Linked DNA regions of Homo sapiens: regions 1, 2, 4, 5 and 6 are each linked to region 3. The links are contacts of gene promoters, found by promoter capture Hi-C in blood cells and fetal thymus (Javierre and others, 2016). All regions are on one chromosome and are shown on one strand. Each heading gives the region's core, a stretch centred on a gene start or on the middle of the fragment in contact. The rest is flanking DNA. Distances are from core to core; before and after follow the strand shown. Region 1 holds the start of HYOU1 (hypoxia up-regulated 1). Region 2 overlaps SCN2B (sodium voltage-gated channel beta subunit 2). Region 3 holds the start of PHLDB1 (pleckstrin homology like domain family B member 1). Region 4 overlaps BCL9L (BCL9 like). Region 5 holds the start of SLC37A4 (solute carrier family 37 member 4). Region 6 overlaps SCN4B (sodium voltage-gated channel beta subunit 4).

Region 1 (2,700 bases), core at 4-2,503, 450 kb after region 3:
CAAAAAGGCCTGGACCTAACAACTCAAGAGACTTCTGGCCAACAGCCCCAAGCTCAATTCCCATCATGCATCCTTCAGTCATCATTTATCCATTTGCTCCCTCTACTGGGGTACATACCACTCAGTGCCAACAGGTCTGCCAAGAGCACAGCCACCAAGGCCCAACAGACTCGCCTCCTCGGCCTCTGCCTCCTAACTTTGTCTGCCATAGTGCCCCTGGGGGAGGCGAAGAAAGAAAACACTTAAAACTGGATACCCGGAGTGAAGGAGACAGAATCACATCCCAGAACGGAGAGGCTGTAAGATTCATATCTACTTCATTCTTACCCAGGGCAGATCAGCCTACTTCTCCCCTTCTCCCTCCTGATGGGTACAAACCATTCTCTAATCATCCCAGCAGCGCCCACACAAAGGCCCAAGTGAAAGAGCATGGGTCCTCGGCTTTGCCACATCCCTAAACAGAGAAGCTAACAGGACAAGAGAAAGGAGACCCGAGCCTTTTGTCCACCACACAGGCAGTGAGTGGCGCACCGCAGCACTGTGCCTGTTGTCAGACACCTGGGGTGCGGCCAGGGATCCCCGCCCAGGGCTCAACCACCTCCCCACACCTGGAGCTCCCCCGCTGACGGGGAAAGCCAGCTGGGCCTGGACGGGAAGAGAAAGGTAATGACGTTGGGGGTAGCTAGGATGAAGGAAAGGCCTATCTCCTCCTCGGCATCCCTGCGGGTTGTCCCGCCCCCTCCCCTTTCCCAGCTCACTCCCCGGCCCCGCTGTGCCCACAGACGCAGTGCCAGGGGCGGTAAGGTTCCCCGCCCGGCGGGTAGCCGTTACCCGGTGTTCACCTAAACCCCACCTGACGAAGGCGGCGGCTCCCACTCCCGGAAACGGATCCCGGCCCGCCCCAGCAAGTGGGGACAGACCGGGGGCCGAGCTGCGTGCCCCCCGGTGCGAGGCCGAGCGCCCGGCGTCCGCGCGGCCCTCCCTTGCGCTCCCGACCCGCCCCCGGAGCTCGCACGCTGTCTCCCCTAGGAGGGGTGGCCGGCCCGCACCTCCATCCACCCCCGCTACCTCTTGCCTCCGCTCCTGCGGCCCCAGCTCTGGGACAGACGCGGCACGAACGTACCCACGAGGCCGGCAGCGCCCCCCACCCGCGCCCTTCACAACTCCTCTCGGTTTGCAAACTGTTACATTAGCCACCAACCTCTCGGCGGCGTCTCGCGCACCAGCCGGCCCCGGACGCGGCGCGCGCTCATTGGAGCCTCGGCCGCCCGGCCCTGCGCTGCGCGCCCGGCCCCGCCCCCGCCGCCCCGGCGCGCGTACTCATTGGACCACGTCCCAGGCCCCGCCCCCTCCCTTTGCCAGCCTTGTAATGGGGCGGCGGAGGGGACCAGCCACCGGTTGGGCAGAAGCAGCCGGCGTCGGCCTGGGATTGGACCACGTCACGGGGCCAGCGCGCTCCACTCCTTCCTCCCCAGCGCCGGCCCCGGGGCGACCGCGGGACCTTTTCCGGCGCTGGATGCTTTGCTGCCGGGGTTCGGGAGTGACCTGCGCCTAGAGCAGGTCGGGCGCACTGCAGTCCCGCACTCGGGGCTCTTCTTCCGGTCACCTGTAGAGCCCGGCCGAGGAATGGAATAACAGGCGTCCTGTCCGCAGCCCCGCGGAGGGGGCGCTGGCCTGCCGGTTAGTATTGAGGTGCCCTAGGCTTTGGATAGACGTTGGAGAATGGCTGTCCCTCGGACTGAGTCCGTCGCAACCCCCTCTGTTTTACTGAGGAAACTGAAGCCACAGAAAAAGATGTTTGCTGATGGGTCAGAGATAACCGATGCATTCGTCGCAGAATCTGGCCAGGATTTCTTAGGTTAAGCCCCACTCATTTGTATAAGAAAGAATATTCCAAACTTAAGTACTACACACAAAAGACACTTTTATTTGTGAGGCTATAGTTGGTTGAGCTTGTGTGCACCTTCTCCTATTTCTGTTCTATTAAATCTTGTGAACATTTCTCTACTCTTTAGCTGTTTCTGTCATAGAATGACAGAAGCACCTCACTGCCTTCTCTTTTAACTTACAGCTCCATAGAAATGTGCGCAGTCGCCCGGGCGCGGTGGCTCACGCCTGTAATCCCAGCATTTTGGGAGGCCAAGGCGGGCGAATCACTGGAGGTCAGGAGTTCGAGACCAGCCTGGCCAACATGGTGAAACCCCGTCTCTACCAAAACTACAAAAATTAGCCAGGCGTGGTGGCGGGTGCCTGTAATCCCAGCTACTCACGAGGCTGAGGCAGGAGAATTGCTTGAATCCGGGAGGCAGAGGTTGCTGTGAGCCCAGACTGCGCCACTGCACTCCAGCCTGGGCGACAACAGCGAGACTCCTTCTCGAAAAAGAAATGTACGCAGTCCTTGGAGACTGCATTTTCCTTAAGTGTGGATGGAAATAAGTCATCTGTTTTCTCTCCTACTAAGTTGATGCCTGGCCACCCTTCACAGAAAGGCCCGCTTGAAGACCCTGGCTGTCAGGGCCAGGGTTGTGTCAAGCCTGAACTTGTTTAAGGAGCTCTTAGCTCTTCCTTTCTCTACATTTTTCGTGATGCTTAGGTGGAGAGTGGTCCGGTGTCTATGCTTAGAAGGAAAAATTATTGGCAGTCCCAGAGAGAGTCTATTCTTCCTTTTTTTTTTTTTTTTTTTTTTATTGATCATTCTTG
Region 2 (2,700 bases), core at 75-2,574, 440 kb before region 3:
CTCAGAGTCAGTGTTTCTGCCTCTTGCTCCTTCTCTCAGGCCTAATCAATTTCCATTGAATGTGAGTGTAATGGCAGTGATGGTTGGCTCCGCACAATTGCCTTTTTTTTTTTTTTTTTTTTTTTTTGAGATGGAGTCTCTCTATGTCACCCAGGCTGAATTGCAGTGGCACTATCACTATCTCAGTTCACTGCAACCTCTGCTTCCCGGGCTCAAGCGATTCTCCTGCCTCAGCCTCCCAAATAGCTGGGATTACAGGCACACGCCACCACGCCCAGCTAATTCTTGTATTTTTAGTAGAGATGGGGTTTTGCCCATTTCTACTAAACAGATGGAGGTAATCCACCCGCCTTGGCCTCCCAAAGTGCTGGGATTACAGGCGTGAGCCACTGTGCCTGGCCTACAATTGTCACTTTTGTCCCCACGAAGGGAGTTGTTGGGAGAGGAGCGAGTAGTGTGGCTGCAGATGGGACAGGGCTGGCATTGGCAGCTCAGGTTCCAAGGCCTCCCCTTATGCCGGCCTCAGGCTTTCCCTTCCCTCTCTGTAGCCAAAAGCCAGGTGGAAACCCCACCAAGGGCAACTGGGAGAGTTCTCACTGAAGCCCCAAAGAAAGCTGCCCCACCCTGTGCATGGCCTCCTCATTTCCCAGCCTTGGCTGCCCCTGCCCAGGCGAGGGTGGTTACCCCATGGAGAAGGCAGAGCCTGCAGCAACCTGCATTCACCATGGAGCCCCACCCCTCAGCCCCTCAGCTGACTTTGAAACTGGCCTCTGTTGGTGGGTCCCCGCTGGGAAACATGGCCCCCTACCTGGAGCTGCTCTTCCAGTCTGGCCTCATCCACAGTCCTAAGGGATTAGGAGCCAACGGGAGCCCCAAGGAGGCCACTAGCAATGGAAACGAGGGCCCAACATGGCCTCCTGGGCCAGGGCACATGTCCAGCTTTGCCTGCAGCCCTGGCTTTCCGTCAGTGCCCTGGAATGCACAGTCATCCCTTTAACATGCCCCTCCAAGTTTCAGGAACTCATCGTCACCTCCAGCCTGATGGCTGCTCTGGGCTGGGAGCAGGGGAGGAGCACAGCCGTGCCAGGCCAAGGCCCTCCTGAGGGAGCGCTGTCAGCACAGGAAAGCCCTCCCTCCCCACCAGGTCCTCTCTGAAGCCACTGCCAGGCCAAGCACTGGGCAGGTGGACAGCGGCCCCCTCCTCTACCCCTGCCCACCCACTCCCTTCTCTCTGGGGACCCTCACATGTGCCTCCTGCCTCCCCCCAGGGACTGGCAGGTGGGAGCCCTTTCTCTCCTCTCCCCAGGGCCCACACGTCCCAGAGCATGGCAGGTTTCTCGGATGGAAGAGAGTGGGTCACTCTTGGTGCAGGGTGGGAGATACGAAGTCGGGGGTTCAGGAGGCCCCAGGTGGGCCCTGGGGTCCTAGGTCACGGGAAGCACACCAAGAGCGAGCAGGCAGGGTCACTGTACAGGGCGGAGAGGGGAGGAGACGGGACACGGGAGGCTGCAGGGCCGGCCACCCACTACTTGGCGCCATCATCCGGGTTGCCTTCACCGTCCGTCTTGCCCTCCTCCTCGGTCTTCAGGTCATCTGTGCTCAGCTTCTGCTCTTTTTTTCTCCTCACACACTTGACCACCATCAGCACCAAGATGACCACAGCCAGGAAGCCCCCGACGGAGGCACCCACAATCACGGCCACCGTGGAGTCCCGCTCAGGGGGCTCTGGAAAGGAAGCAGAGCCACTGAGCACCAGGGCTGGGAAAGGGGCCTCCCCCATCACCCCACTACCCGTGGCATGCGTGGAACCATCCTGACTTTACTCTCCTCCACAGACAGGACTTTAGCAAAGCCGAAAAGCAATCCAGTGACTGACCCTGAAGCGCCGCCACCTCCAAATCCCAGGACACCCAAAGCCCCCAGAGGAGCTAGTGTGATGAAGTATTTAAGAGCATGAACTTTAAGATCAAACAGACCCAAATTTGAGTCCTAATTGTACAACTTACGAATTGCGTGACCTTAAGTAACTTATCCTCTCTAACCTCAGTTTTCTAACATGTAAAATGGGCTTAATAATAGTACCTCCCTCAAAGGTTTTCATGAGGATGAGATAATGCATAAACAGAGCTTAGCCCTATGACTGAGACATAGAGGTGCCCAATAAATGAAAGCTGCCATCATCACCATCATTATTATTGCTGTTGTTGTCATTTGAAACAGGGTCTTGCTCTGTTGCCCAAGCTGGAGTGCAGTGGCACAATCATGATTCACTGCAGCCTCTACCTGCTGGGCTCAGATGATCCTCTCACCTCAGCCTCCCAAGTAGCTGGGAGTATAGGTGCAAGCCACCATGCCCAGCTAATTTTTGCATTTTCTGTAGAGATGGAGTTTTGCCATGTTGCCCAGGCTGGTCTCGAGCTCCTGAGCTCAAGCTATCTGCCTGCCTCAGCCTCCCAAAGCGCTGTGATTACAGGTGTGAGCCATCACACCAAGCCCCATTATTAAGACTGGGATTATATTCTGTATCATTACCAGGACTCTCTGGGACATGTTCCCAGGTTCTTGAGGACTAGAGGGAAGAAAATGGATTCCTTCTATGCAGCACAAATGGTTGCTCCCATCCTCAGGAGGGCCTGGCCTCCCCAAAGTGCCCTGAGCAAATGCCGCAGAGAGTAGGTGGGTGGGAAAGGTCAGGGCCCC
Region 3 (2,700 bases), core at 28-2,527:
GCCGTGGGGGGTCCCCTGCTAAGGCCAGCCCTGTCAATGAGTGACCAGAGATTCCTGTAGTTCAGCCTCCTGCTGTTCCTGGGTTAGGGAGAGACGGCACAAACTAAACTCATTGAATTAGAACAGCACTTGTCCATCTCAAAGAGGATAAATTATTTTTTGCTATCCACCCCAGCTGGAATTTAGACCAGACTTACAGGCTTTCTGCTCCTTCCTTCAGTGAAGAAGAGTCTCCAGGGTCCCTCTAGTGCAGGTCAAAGAAGTCCAGTCCAGCTGAGTTCAGCTCCCTAGGGCCTCCCCAGCCAGTCTCCTGGACCAAGAGCTGGCTTTGCAAGGTAAGGATCCACTGTCAGCGTTGGATTTCGGAGTGGAGGTTGAGATGGAGAATGACTTCAACCTAGCTCAATTTGGGGGCTGCTTTTAGGTGTTTAGTGCCTCCTTCTCTTCCTTATTAACTCCCACTCCTACTACAGGTTGGTGTGCTCAATTGTATGTCTATAGCCTGCCTCCATCTCCCAATCTGTAATCCAGCAAGTCTGTCGGGGTGGAGGGGTGTGGAGCTCCATGGGGGCAAGATGATAATTCCATTCGGTTTTCCTGTGCTTTGGAGTTTGCATGACACTTTAACGAGTCTTCTTGTGCCTATCCTTAAGAAAGTCTGTGAAGCCTGATGTGCGTGGCTATCAATGTCATTTACAGCTCTTCATGGTGGGGCTTGGAATAGGGCGAGGGGAGGAGGTGACAGGGAGAAGACCTGGGTACCCTCAGTAGATGTTCTGGAGATGTTGAGAGCATGTTGTAGGGGCTTCGATTTGGGAGGTTCAGTGGGAGCCCGTGGAGGTTTCAGGCATCTAAGGCAAAAAGAAAGAGGGGAGAGTTTGGGGGAGGGAGAACGGATTGTCAAAAACACCCTCTCAAAAGCGTGTTAAAGCCTGGGAGTGGAGGGTGGTCTAGGAGAGTCGGGAGGGCAGGGTGGGAGGAGAGGGGGATGTGTGGTGGTGGTGGTGGTGGTGGTGGTGGTGGTGGTGGTGGTGGTGGTGGTGGTGGTGATGGTGGAGAGCCCAGCTGCAAAGATGAACAAAGCGGGCGCTGTGCAGGCTGGGGGAGGTGCTGCTGTGGGAAAGGGTGGGTGGGGGGACCTTGGGCTCCAGCCCCACAAGGGCGTCTTCTTTGGCTGGCCAGGCGGACGGGACGGGGGACGGGGGCGGGGACTGGCGGGAGGGGGGCGGGACAGGCTCGCTCTCCTCCTACTTAGCGAGCTCCCGGGGAAAAGCAACGGTGTCCTCCTAAGCCTGAGGCCACCGCGACCGAGCCGAGCCAGGCTAAGGGACCAGTGTCTCCCTGCCCCCCCCCCACCTCTAGGTAAGAGCGCCCCGTCCCACTACACTTGCGGGTCCCATTCGCTGCGGTGCTAGGACTGGATAAGGGGAAGTCCCCGGGGCCTGGCGAGAGCCCTGAGATCAGCTCTAGGCTAGGGAGCTCGGCAGAAACCCGTGGGGGAGAGAGGGCACCCCAGGTGAGTGCGTGGGGGCGAAAGGAGCGTTATGGGGAGTTTTCCTGTGAGCCTCTTGCTTTTGCCTTCCTCGGCCGCTGCCAACGCCACCGCCAGAGGGGGCCGTGACGCTCTCCCCCCCTTGGAGAAACTCTGATCCTGGCCCTATCCAGACTCTCCCGCCGGCACCCAGGCGGCCGGGCGGACACTCGCGGGGTATCGGGCGGCGAGCGCGCGCGCGGGTTTTCGTCCTCCAGCGCCCCACACCTCCCCCTCTCCGCCCACAGCAGGACCTTGGGGCGGGGGTATCTCCTGTGACGTCTCCCCGCCTGTCCCCAGGCCGGCCGCCTTGATGGACCAGGAAGGGATTCGGAGTCCGGCTCAGAGTCTTGAGCGTCTAGGAGGGCTGCCTGGGGGTGTCCAGGAGATGGGAAGCCCGCCTGGGGCCTCCCAGGCACTCCCCAAGGCCCCACGTCCTCGGGGGCCGGGGAGGCCGCCTGGGGCGCCTTGCCACGCCCGCGCGGTCCCTATTGGAATCCCTAGCGGAGTTCCCCGAGCGGAGGCTGACCCAAGTCATCCGGGCTCCCCCGGGATAGGGAAGTGCGGGCGGGCGGCTGGGTAGGGGCGCCGGCGCAGGGTGGCCGAGTCGCCCGCTAGCGCTTCCGCCGAGGCAGGCTCGAGTGGGGACTTGGCCGGGCGACCGCACAGCCCTGCCGGGGACCCACGGCTCTGGGGCGGGGCTGCATTCTGGGCCGTTAGCTCAGCGGTCCTGGAGCCTCCCGAGGCTGACTCATCGGGCGGCGGGCTCACCCCCCAGCCGTCAAACGCAAACGCAGGCGCCCCACCACGCCGGGCTCCCACGCGGCACACACGCACGCCTCCGCGACACTTCGCACACCTACGTCCCTGCGTCACGCCACCCAGACACACCCGGACCCGCCCACACGCCGAGGCCTTCCCACGCACTCCATGCCTTACGCCTCACAGGAAAGCGCCCCGCGCTCACGCAGCCCCTCACACCCGCAGCCCCGCTTACACGCGCCCCAGCTCACACATGCACCCCAGTCACACAGCCTACCTCACACACGCACCCCAGTCACACACACAACCCAGCTCACACACGTACCCGTCACACATGAGGCCCCAGCTCACACACGAAGCCCAGCTCACACACGCAGCCCCAGCTCTCACACACACACCCCAGTCAA
Region 4 (2,700 bases), core at 165-2,664, 300 kb after region 3:
CACAGCCTTACAGCTCGTGCCCACAGGGACATTTGATGTCAGTATCTGGTGTTCTCACCAGGCTGGTTTCCACGATGGCAAGAGTGGTGACCATGTGGAGAGCAGGGACAGAGAAAATGTGTCCTCTCCACAGGCTCCCATGGGCCTGGCATTCTGCTGGGGACTTAACAGGTGTGATTTCATCTCATCAACACACCCTGGGAGGAACGTGTCACACACTCCACTTAACAAAGGAGGAAATAAGTTCCTCACCCACAGTTACACAGCCAGTTAGTGCAGAGCCAGAACTGAACCCAGGGCCGGGACTCTGAAGCTCCGCTCTGAGCTGCTGCCCCTCTCACTGGGTAAGTGTATGTGCACACAGTCTAGTGACCCAGTTAGGGAGAAGGCAGAGAGGGTACACAAGCTGATGATCCAAATGATGGATGGTTTTTCACTCTAGCCCCACCACTAACTGACTTTGTGATTTTATGAACCAGACATCCCTCTAAGCCTCGGTTTCTTCATCTATAAAATGTAAAATACTAACCTCCTCCTTGCACAGGGGGCAGGCCAAAGAAATATATTTTTTAACAGTAAGTTTAAATCAATGTCACAGACTAAAAAAATCCATTTGAAAAACAGAGAGCCGGGAGCGGTGTCTCACGCCTGTAATCCCAGCAGTTTGGGCGGTAGAGGCGGGCGGATCACCTGAGGTCATGAGTTCAAGACCAGCCTGGCCAACATGGTGAAACCCCGTCTCTACTAAAAATACAAAAATTAACTGGGCATGGTGGCGCATGGCTGTAATCCCGCTACTCAGGAGGCTGAGACATGAGAATTGCTTGAACTTAGGAGGTGGAAGTTGCAGTGAGCCGAGATCACACCATTGCACTCTAGCCAGGGCGACAGAGCGAGACTGTCTCAAAAAAATAAATAAATAAATAAAAATAAGAAAGAAAAAACAGTTAGAAAAAGCTGACATACTGGAAACACTCTCAAGACAGACCAGCTGCCCTCAGCACCAAGGGAAGTTTTGTTCCATGGTTAGACACTTGACTGTAAGTCTTAGCGTAGAAAAAAATCTACAACGGGTCTAGGTGAGTGGGTAGACCCATTCGCATGCCAAGAAAAGCAAGTCACAGTTCCTGGCCCGCAGACAGTAAGTACCAGCATTCTCAGTTAATGGGAGACAGATTGCCTGAAGTTGTCTCCATCCAGCCAGGGCAGTGACCACCTTCCCATGGGCCCAGTGTCAGGCTGCCCTCTTTGGAAAAAGTTTCTTCTGCACCTTCTTCTCTGATGGACCCACCCCAAAACGGCCCTGCTCTGGACCCTATCTATCCAATTTTACATAGAAGAGCAGAGCCAGAAATTTGCGGGGGAGCTTGAGAGCTGACCTCAATGTGTGAAGGCTGCTGAGTAGCTCTTGGATACGAGCTATGGGGAGACAGGCAGGGCTTAGTCCAACAAGGAACTTTCTAGTACAATAACAATGATAAAAGCTAACATGTTACATGTATAACCTCATTTACTCCTCATACCAACCCTATGAGATAAATAATACTTTTACAGATGAGGAAACTGAGGCCCTTTCCCAAATTTACAGAAATAACCTGGGTTGCAAACGAAGGCAGCCTGATGGCAGAACTAGTCCTGTCAATGTCTACGTTCTATCGCCCCTCCAGTAAGAACTCTTCAAGAATCTAAGGGCAGGCCGGGCACGGTGGCTTATGCCTGTAATCCTAACACTTTGGGAGGCCGAGGCGGGCGGATCACTTGAGGGCAGGAGTTCAAGACCAGCCTGGCCATAATGGTGAAACTCCATCTCTACTAAAAATACAAAAATTAGCCAGGCGTGGTGACGCATGCCTGTAATCCCAGCTACTTGGGAGGCTGAAGCAGGAGAATTACTTGAACCCAGGAGGTGGAGGTTGCAGTGAGCCGAGATTGTGCCACTGCACTCCAGCCTGGGCAACAGAGTGAGTGAGACTCTGTCTCAAAAAAAAAAAAAAAAAAAAAGAATCAGGCCGGGTGGCTCACGCCTGTAATCCCAGCACTTTGGGGGGCTGAGGCAGGTGTATCACCTGAGGTCAGGAGTTCAGGACCGGTCTGGCCAACATGCTAAAACTCCACCTCTGCTAAAAATACAAAAATTAGCCAGGCGTGGTGGCAGGTGCCTGTAATCCCAGCTACTCGGGAGGCTGAGGCAGGAAAATCGCTTGAACTCAGGAGGCAGAGGTTGCAGTAAGCCGAGTTCGTGCCATTGCACTCCAGCCTGGGCAACAAGAGTGAAACTCCGATTCAAAAATAAATAAATAAATAAATAAATAAAAGAATCTAAGGGTAGTACGACTAAAATAGTCGCCTTGAGTATGGGATGTTAGCAATTTCTACTTTGTATTTCCCTATGTTTGCCAGGCACAGTGGCTCACTCCTGTAATTCCAGCACTTTGGGAGGCCAAGGCATGAGGATCGCTTGAGACCAGGAGTTCAAGATCAGCCTGGGCAACATGGCAAGACTGTCTCTACAAAAATTAGCCAGGTGTGATACATGCCTGAGCCCCAGCTACTTGGGAGTCTGAGATGGGAGGATCACTTGAGCTCAGGAGTTTGAGGTTGCAGTGAGCTGTGATCACACCACTGCACTCCAGCCTGGGTGTCAGAGAGAGACCCTGTCTCTAAACAATAAATAAATAAAACTCACAAAGTTTCTACAAT
Region 5 (2,700 bases), core at 1-2,500, 420 kb after region 3:
CGGAAGGAGGCATGCCTGTGAGCCAGGCCAGCACCCTGTGTCCCCAGGATTTCTGCCTTTACCTCCTCTATCATGTCTGCTTGCCTGTGAAACCAGCTTTGATTAAAGGTTCAACCTAATTACTTTTGTCTGCCTGAGCCCAGGGGAGGCAGGGGTGGGATGAGCAGAGATGCCCTCTCTAGCCCTGCTCCCTCAGTCACAGAACCTTCTCATTCATTCACGGAAGGTTTATTAACTTACTAGTTGACAGGCACTGCACTTGGCACTATTAGTTTCTACACCCACTCACCACCACCGCACCAAAACACAAAGTCAGACACATACCCCGGCTACCCCACTTCTAAGCCTTCTAGAGAGGGCCTCAATCCGTGGAACTCTCAATACTTAGCACATAATAGATTTAATTGTTTCCTACAGTTGCCCCTTGTAATTCTGTGCAAGGGGGACCTCCCCAGTTCAGGTCCCACGGTGTCACACAGAAAGCCCCGCTAAGGGCTGAGGTCCTGATGGGGCCCCACAGAGCTACCTCTGGGTCCCCATTACCCTGCGACGTCAGTCTGGGCTTCCTTCGGGCTAGCTGGGGGCTGCAGGGTCTGGTTTCCAACCTGTGGGACGTTGGCAGGGGCCGCAAGCAGAGGGACTGGGCAGCTCGTGGGCGGGAAGGTGCCCCGGCGGGCTTCGGGCTGCAGGGCACAACCGTCCCGCCCAGGGCCCCGGCAACATGCCCCGGCTTTTCCGCTCAATTGGGAAAGCAACTGGAGCAGAAGGCGTAGGCGCACGCGGAGCGGGCGACCGCACGTATTCTCCCGGAGGCCCCGCGCTTCTGGCACCCAGAGGCTCAGCCTGGTAGGGGAGGGCCAGGCGGCGGGCGGGAGAGGAGGAGAGGCGGCGGGCGGCGAAGAGGCGGCGGGCTCGTGGCACCTGCCCAGCCCCGTGGGTCCTCACGCTACCCAGGACACGCTACTGTGCGGCTGGGAACCACGGGGGCCGGGGGTGCAGGAGCTGGAGAGGTGCGGAGACCACAGGACTGGCGCGATAGAAAGGGGTCTCGTGCTGGTGGTCAGGGACAGCGCCTCGGTGGCCCCAAGACCCATGAATTGTCTCTGGAACTGCAGGAACAGCTCCGGGTCGTATCGGAAGTTGGGGTTCGCCAACAATGGCTCCCCAAGACCTGAGATCCCCGCCCTCAGGTGACTCCCCTCCCCCGCATACCGCCTCCTACCTGAACAGAGGCGGGAGCCCGAATAGGACGGGGCGGGGCTAGCGAAGGCTGCGCAAGCGCGGCCGGCGGGGGCGTGGTCTTCGCCTGCTGCTTCGCTTGCCGGCCAGTGGAGTTCCCCGCCCCACATGCCGGGGACGTCGACTTACTCCCTCCCGCTGGTCACGCTGCTCCTTGGACGAACGAGCATAGCGCCCCTTAGGGGCTGGGCACGGCATGTCCAATTCTTAAGTGGTTGCATTCAACAAACCAGTTTTTAGTGAGTGCCCTCCTCTACAAAACACACCGAACACTAAGGTGATAATCATTGTTCCCAAGTTGCTCACAGTCTGGGAAAGGTGTTGTAGGAACACACAGTATTTTCTTTTTTTCTTTTTTTTTTTTTTTGAAACAGTCTCGCTCAGTCGCCCAGGCTGGAGTGCAGTGGCGCGATTTCGGCTCACTGCAAGCTCCTCCTCCCGGGTTCACACCATTCTCCTGCCTCAGCCTCCCGAGTAGCTGGGACTACGGGCGCCCACCACCACGCCCGGGTAATTTTTTGTATTTTTAGTAGAGACGGGGTTTCACCGTGTTTGCCAGGATGGTCTCGATCTCCTGACCTCGTGATCCGCTCACCTCGGCCTCCCAAAGTGCTGGGATTACAGGCGTGAGCCACCGCGCCCAGCCCACAATTTGGAATTTTAACTTGTGGTTAGATTGTTGGGGACAGAGACGGGGCCTGGAGTAAATATCAAATTCTAGTCCTAGACCCACAGCATTCTAACTGTATGACCTTGGTTAATCTCTATGAGCTCCCGTTTCCTACCAGCCTGGTAGATCATTGTGAAGACTCAACAGATGATTTAGATAAGAGCTCAGAAATTCTATAAGAGTTCTCAACAACAATGGTTTTCACTGATCCCAGTTAAGAGTTGTGAGGAGTAACAGTAGTGATGCTATTTTACAACAATGATGACTGTGTTCTCAGAAACAGAGCAAATGTTAACCCTGCCCATAGCTTCAACAGAAGGTAACATAGCCTAACAAAGTCCCCAACAGTCCCAATCAGCCAGCACTTCCCGACCTCTCCCCAATAGAAACGATATTATAAAAGCCTCAGCTTGTAAGCGATCAGGGTCTCAGCCAGACTCCTGACTGGAACTCCTTGCAGGCTTATTCCTGTGAATAAACCTGTTTGGCCGTTGAGTTGCCTCCTGTCTCTCGCTCTCTTCCCTTATATCTTCCTAACAAGAGTGGCTGAAGGAATTGTAAGTGTTCCAAAATTGAGAGCAAAGATCTTTTACTCCAGAGAAGATGGTCAGGGAAGGGAGGAGGAGGAGATGAGATAAAATAGGATGACAGGCCGGACGCGATGGCTCATGCTTGTAATCCCAGCACATTGGGAGGCCAAGGCGGGCAGATCACTTGAAGTCAGGAGTTCGAGACCAGCCTGGCCAACATGGTGAAACCCTGTCTCTACTAAAAATACCAAAATTAGCCAG
Region 6 (2,700 bases), core at 121-2,620, 470 kb before region 3:
CCTCTCCCCAGGGCCCCCCAGGCCTTCCTCCCTGAGCTCTCCGTGACTAGAGGTATTAAGGGAAGAACAGAGTCCATGGAAGGGGCAGAGCAGGCAGTGGGTTTGGCTTCAAGGGTGACAGGTCTAGGCAGAGTTTGGTGGGACGGAGCAGAAGACAGGAGGAAGGAGAGATGGTGAGATGGGAAGACACCTCCCGGGAGGCGTTCCACCCTGACCGCTCTGAGCTGGACATGCTCCAACTTCAGTGTGTCCCTCCTCCACAGCAGCGCCCAGGCTGGGCACACAGAACTCCCCAGGGAGCACCTGCATCCCTCTGAGCTTTCTGCTCATGAAAATGGCCAAGTTTTTCACAGCTGCTACAGCCAAACTACATCCTACCCTCACCCTGGGCTTGGGCAGCTGGGTTTGAGGCCTTTGGGAAGGACTGAATATTTTGTCCTCATTAATTTCATCTTGCAATACCTAGTTCCTAGCTCCAGCCTATCAAGATCTTCCTAGATCCCTTTTTCTTCCAACATAGTTACTAGGCTTCTGGAAGTTGATAAATGTGACATCCCTAGTGTACTTCAAATGTTAGTAATAACAATGAACAGGTGGAGCCCTGTGGAATACACTAAAGACCTCTATTCGGATGGATCCATCTCTCTCTCTCTGTCTCTCTCTCTTTCTTTCTTTCTGTCTCTGTACCTAAGGCATAGTTAACCCAGCCAATTACGACCCACCGAACTGTATTCCACGCAGTCCATAATTCTCTACTGAGAACCTACTGGGTACCAGGCACTGTGTCGGAAACGTGCACTCTCCTAGGGCATGTGACATTAAACAAGTGATTGTGACACACTGTGGTAAATAACAGGATGGGGGATGTAGGAAGGAGGGACCCAACCTAGGAAGCCTCCTCATAGGAGTCAGGGAAGCTTTTTGGAAGTATACCTTAAACTTCCAAGCTTCTTTGAAACCAAGAAAGATGAGCAGGAAAAGAGAGAGGGTAAATTCCAGACAGAGGAAACAGCACCCACGTTTCAGAATCAATGGTGAGATGTTGTCCAGTACCTCCCTGTTCTTGAGAAGCCACTGTCTCTGCTGTAATGCAGGCATTCCCCGCCACTCCAAGGACCTCCCTCAGGCTTCCCTACGGTCTGTCCCCTGCCCCCAGGCTCTTCCACCCAATCCCTCCGCCCACCATGGCCAGATCCTTTCTTCTGTGCTCTCTGATCGTGCCAGGGCCCTGCAAGCCCTCGCCAGCTCCCCTGCCGTCGGAAGTCAATCACAGCCTCGACTCCCAGGTCCCCAAGTGTCTGTCCCCAACCCCTTCTGCAGGCTTTTATTCTCCTCCCCACCACCTCACCATACAGCTCTCTCAACAAACAAAAGGCTTGTTCTCCAGACAAGCCCACTTCCCAGACTCTCTGCCTTGGCTCTCAGTGGTGCCTCCATCTGGAAGAATCTTCCCTTTACTCTCCCCAGGGCTTAAGTTATATTAATCTTGCAAGGCCTGCCACAAACACCCATTCAGCCAGAAATCCTTCCCAGAATTTCACCCTGCCCTGAACCCCCACAGCAGCATCGTATCAAACCTCTTTGCTGGCACTGATCCCCTCTACCTTGTATTACATTTATTTGTATACACATTTATTTGTATCTTGTCTTCTTTAGTTAAAGGCAGAATCTCATTCCTTCCATAATTTCCTATAGCATCTGGCACAGTGCCTCAAAAACAGCCACAAAATGAACAGATAAATGAATGAACTCTAGATATGCCCAGTGAGTCAGTAGAACATCCTGGCAATGGTTTAAGCTTTGAAGCCAAATTAGTCACAGTTCAAATCCCAGCTCTATCACTTACTAGCTGTGTGGCCTTGGGCAAGTCACTTCACTACTCTGAGCCTCACTTTGCTCAATTGTAAAATAATAATTATGGGTAGTGTATAAAATTGCCTGGTGGAATTCCTAACATATGGTAGGCATTTGATGAATGACAGGAAGTGGTATTTTCCAGAGCAATCTCCTGTTCTGCCAGTGCCTTATCAGGAGACATCTAGCATTCCTTTTTTTTTTTTCTTTTTTCTTTTTTTTTTTAAGAGACGAGCTCTTGCTAAGTTGCCCAGGCTGGACTCAAACTCCTGGGCTCAAAGCATCCTCCTGCCTCAGCCCCCCAGGGAGCTGGGACTTCAGGCACACACATCCAGCTTAGCATGTCTTGTTTTTGATGAACCCACTGTGGCTCTGAAGGACCACCGTTGTCTTTTCTAAGTGCTTTTAAACCATATATTGACAAATTTGTTCTCCATCCATTGATAGTAAGACTGGTTATGAAAAACAGAACCTAATTAAGCTCCACGCTTTTAGCCCCTCTCACGATCACCAAAACCCTCACAGCCTCTGGCCACAAGGCAGGCAGACAACCCTTGAGCTCTTCATCGACAACCCAGTTCTGGGGTCCTCCCCTGCTCCCCAGCCCCAGCGCTGCTACCTGTATGGCCCCTCCCTACCTCCAACTTCCATCCCCTCTTTCTAGAGTAAGTTCTGCCCTTTACAGCAGAATTCCCTCTTCTCAGCAGAGCAGAATGTTTCAGCAAATAGGGGCAGAGGAGTTCTCCATTCTCTGCATCTCGTGGTTACCATCACCCTCTCTGTTCCAATGGGAAGCCATCTCGTCGCATCTGTCTTGCTCAGAACACAACTTTCAAATGCCTTTTC

What was found. Contacts are between HindIII fragments. The CHiCAGO score rates a contact against its expected background, and 5 or more counts as called.
Region 1: a contact is called between the fragment with the promoter of HYOU1 here and the fragment with the promoter of PHLDB1 in region 3, in 1 of 17 cell types (total CD4 T cells). The highest score is 5.8, in total CD4 T cells.
Region 2: a contact is called between a fragment that was not itself captured here and the fragment with the promoter of PHLDB1 in region 3, in 1 of 17 cell types (total CD8 T cells). The highest score is 5.4, in total CD8 T cells.
Region 4: a fragment that was not itself captured here is called in contact with the fragment with the promoter of PHLDB1 in region 3 in 1 of 17 cell types (naive CD4 T cells); the score reaches 5.1 in naive CD4 T cells.
Region 5: a contact is called between the fragment with the promoter of SLC37A4 here and the fragment with the promoter of PHLDB1 in region 3, in 3 of 17 cell types (non-activated CD4 T cells, naive CD8 T cells and naive CD4 T cells). The highest score is 6.8, in non-activated CD4 T cells.
Region 6: a contact is called between a fragment that was not itself captured here and the fragment with the promoter of PHLDB1 in region 3, in 8 of 17 cell types (naive CD4 T cells, naive CD8 T cells, total CD4 T cells and 5 more). The highest score is 8.1, in naive CD4 T cells.

Annotation. Positions count from the first base shown.
Region 1 is chr11:119,055,952-119,058,651 of GRCh38, forward strand. HYOU1 (hypoxia up-regulated 1) reads right to left here and starts at 1,254. Exons shown (of 26, transcript NM_006389.5): 1 at 1,069-1,254; 2 at 119-216. The coding sequence starts at 209. RefSeq lists enhancers at 352-852, 853-1,352, 1,712-1,761 and silencers at 832-1,111, 1,202-1,481. The HindIII fragment of the contact is 24,437 bases long and covers 1-2,700 here.
Region 2 is chr11:118,165,362-118,168,061 of GRCh38, forward strand. It overlaps SCN2B (sodium voltage-gated channel beta subunit 2), which reads right to left. Exons shown (of 4, transcript NM_004588.5): 4 at 1-1,725. The coding sequence ends at 1,526. Among named protein-coding and RNA genes, the nearest start is that of SCN2B, 9.9 kb to the right of the region's middle. The HindIII fragment of the contact is 6,967 bases long and covers 1-2,700 here.
Region 3 is chr11:118,606,338-118,609,037 of GRCh38, forward strand. It overlaps PHLDB1 (pleckstrin homology like domain family B member 1), which reads left to right and starts at 1,278. Exons shown (of 23, transcript NM_001144758.3): 1 at 1,278-1,362. LOC124902765 (a long non-coding RNA gene) reads right to left here and starts at 2,174. Exons shown (of 2, transcript XR_007062908.1): 1 at 1,786-2,174; 2 at 1-851. RefSeq lists silencers at 1,770-1,859, 1,920-1,989 and enhancers at 2,117-2,411, 2,449-2,700. The HindIII fragment of the contact is 8,144 bases long and covers 1-2,700 here.
Region 4 is chr11:118,903,533-118,906,232 of GRCh38, forward strand. All of the region lies in intron 5 of BCL9L (BCL9 like), which reads right to left. Among named protein-coding and RNA genes, the nearest start is that of MIR4492, 5.8 kb to the right of the region's middle. The HindIII fragment of the contact is 3,900 bases long and covers 1-2,700 here.
Region 5 is chr11:119,029,627-119,032,326 of GRCh38, forward strand. It overlaps SLC37A4 (solute carrier family 37 member 4), which reads right to left and starts at 1,251. Exons shown (of 10, transcript NM_001467.6): 1 at 1,223-1,251. RefSeq lists a silencer at 706-865. The HindIII fragment of the contact is 18,338 bases long and covers 1-2,700 here.
Region 6 is chr11:118,137,841-118,140,540 of GRCh38, forward strand. The region is part of intron 4 of SCN4B (sodium voltage-gated channel beta subunit 4); the gene reads right to left. Among named protein-coding and RNA genes, the nearest start is that of SCN4B, 14 kb to the right of the region's middle. The HindIII fragment of the contact is 851 bases long and covers 946-1,796 here.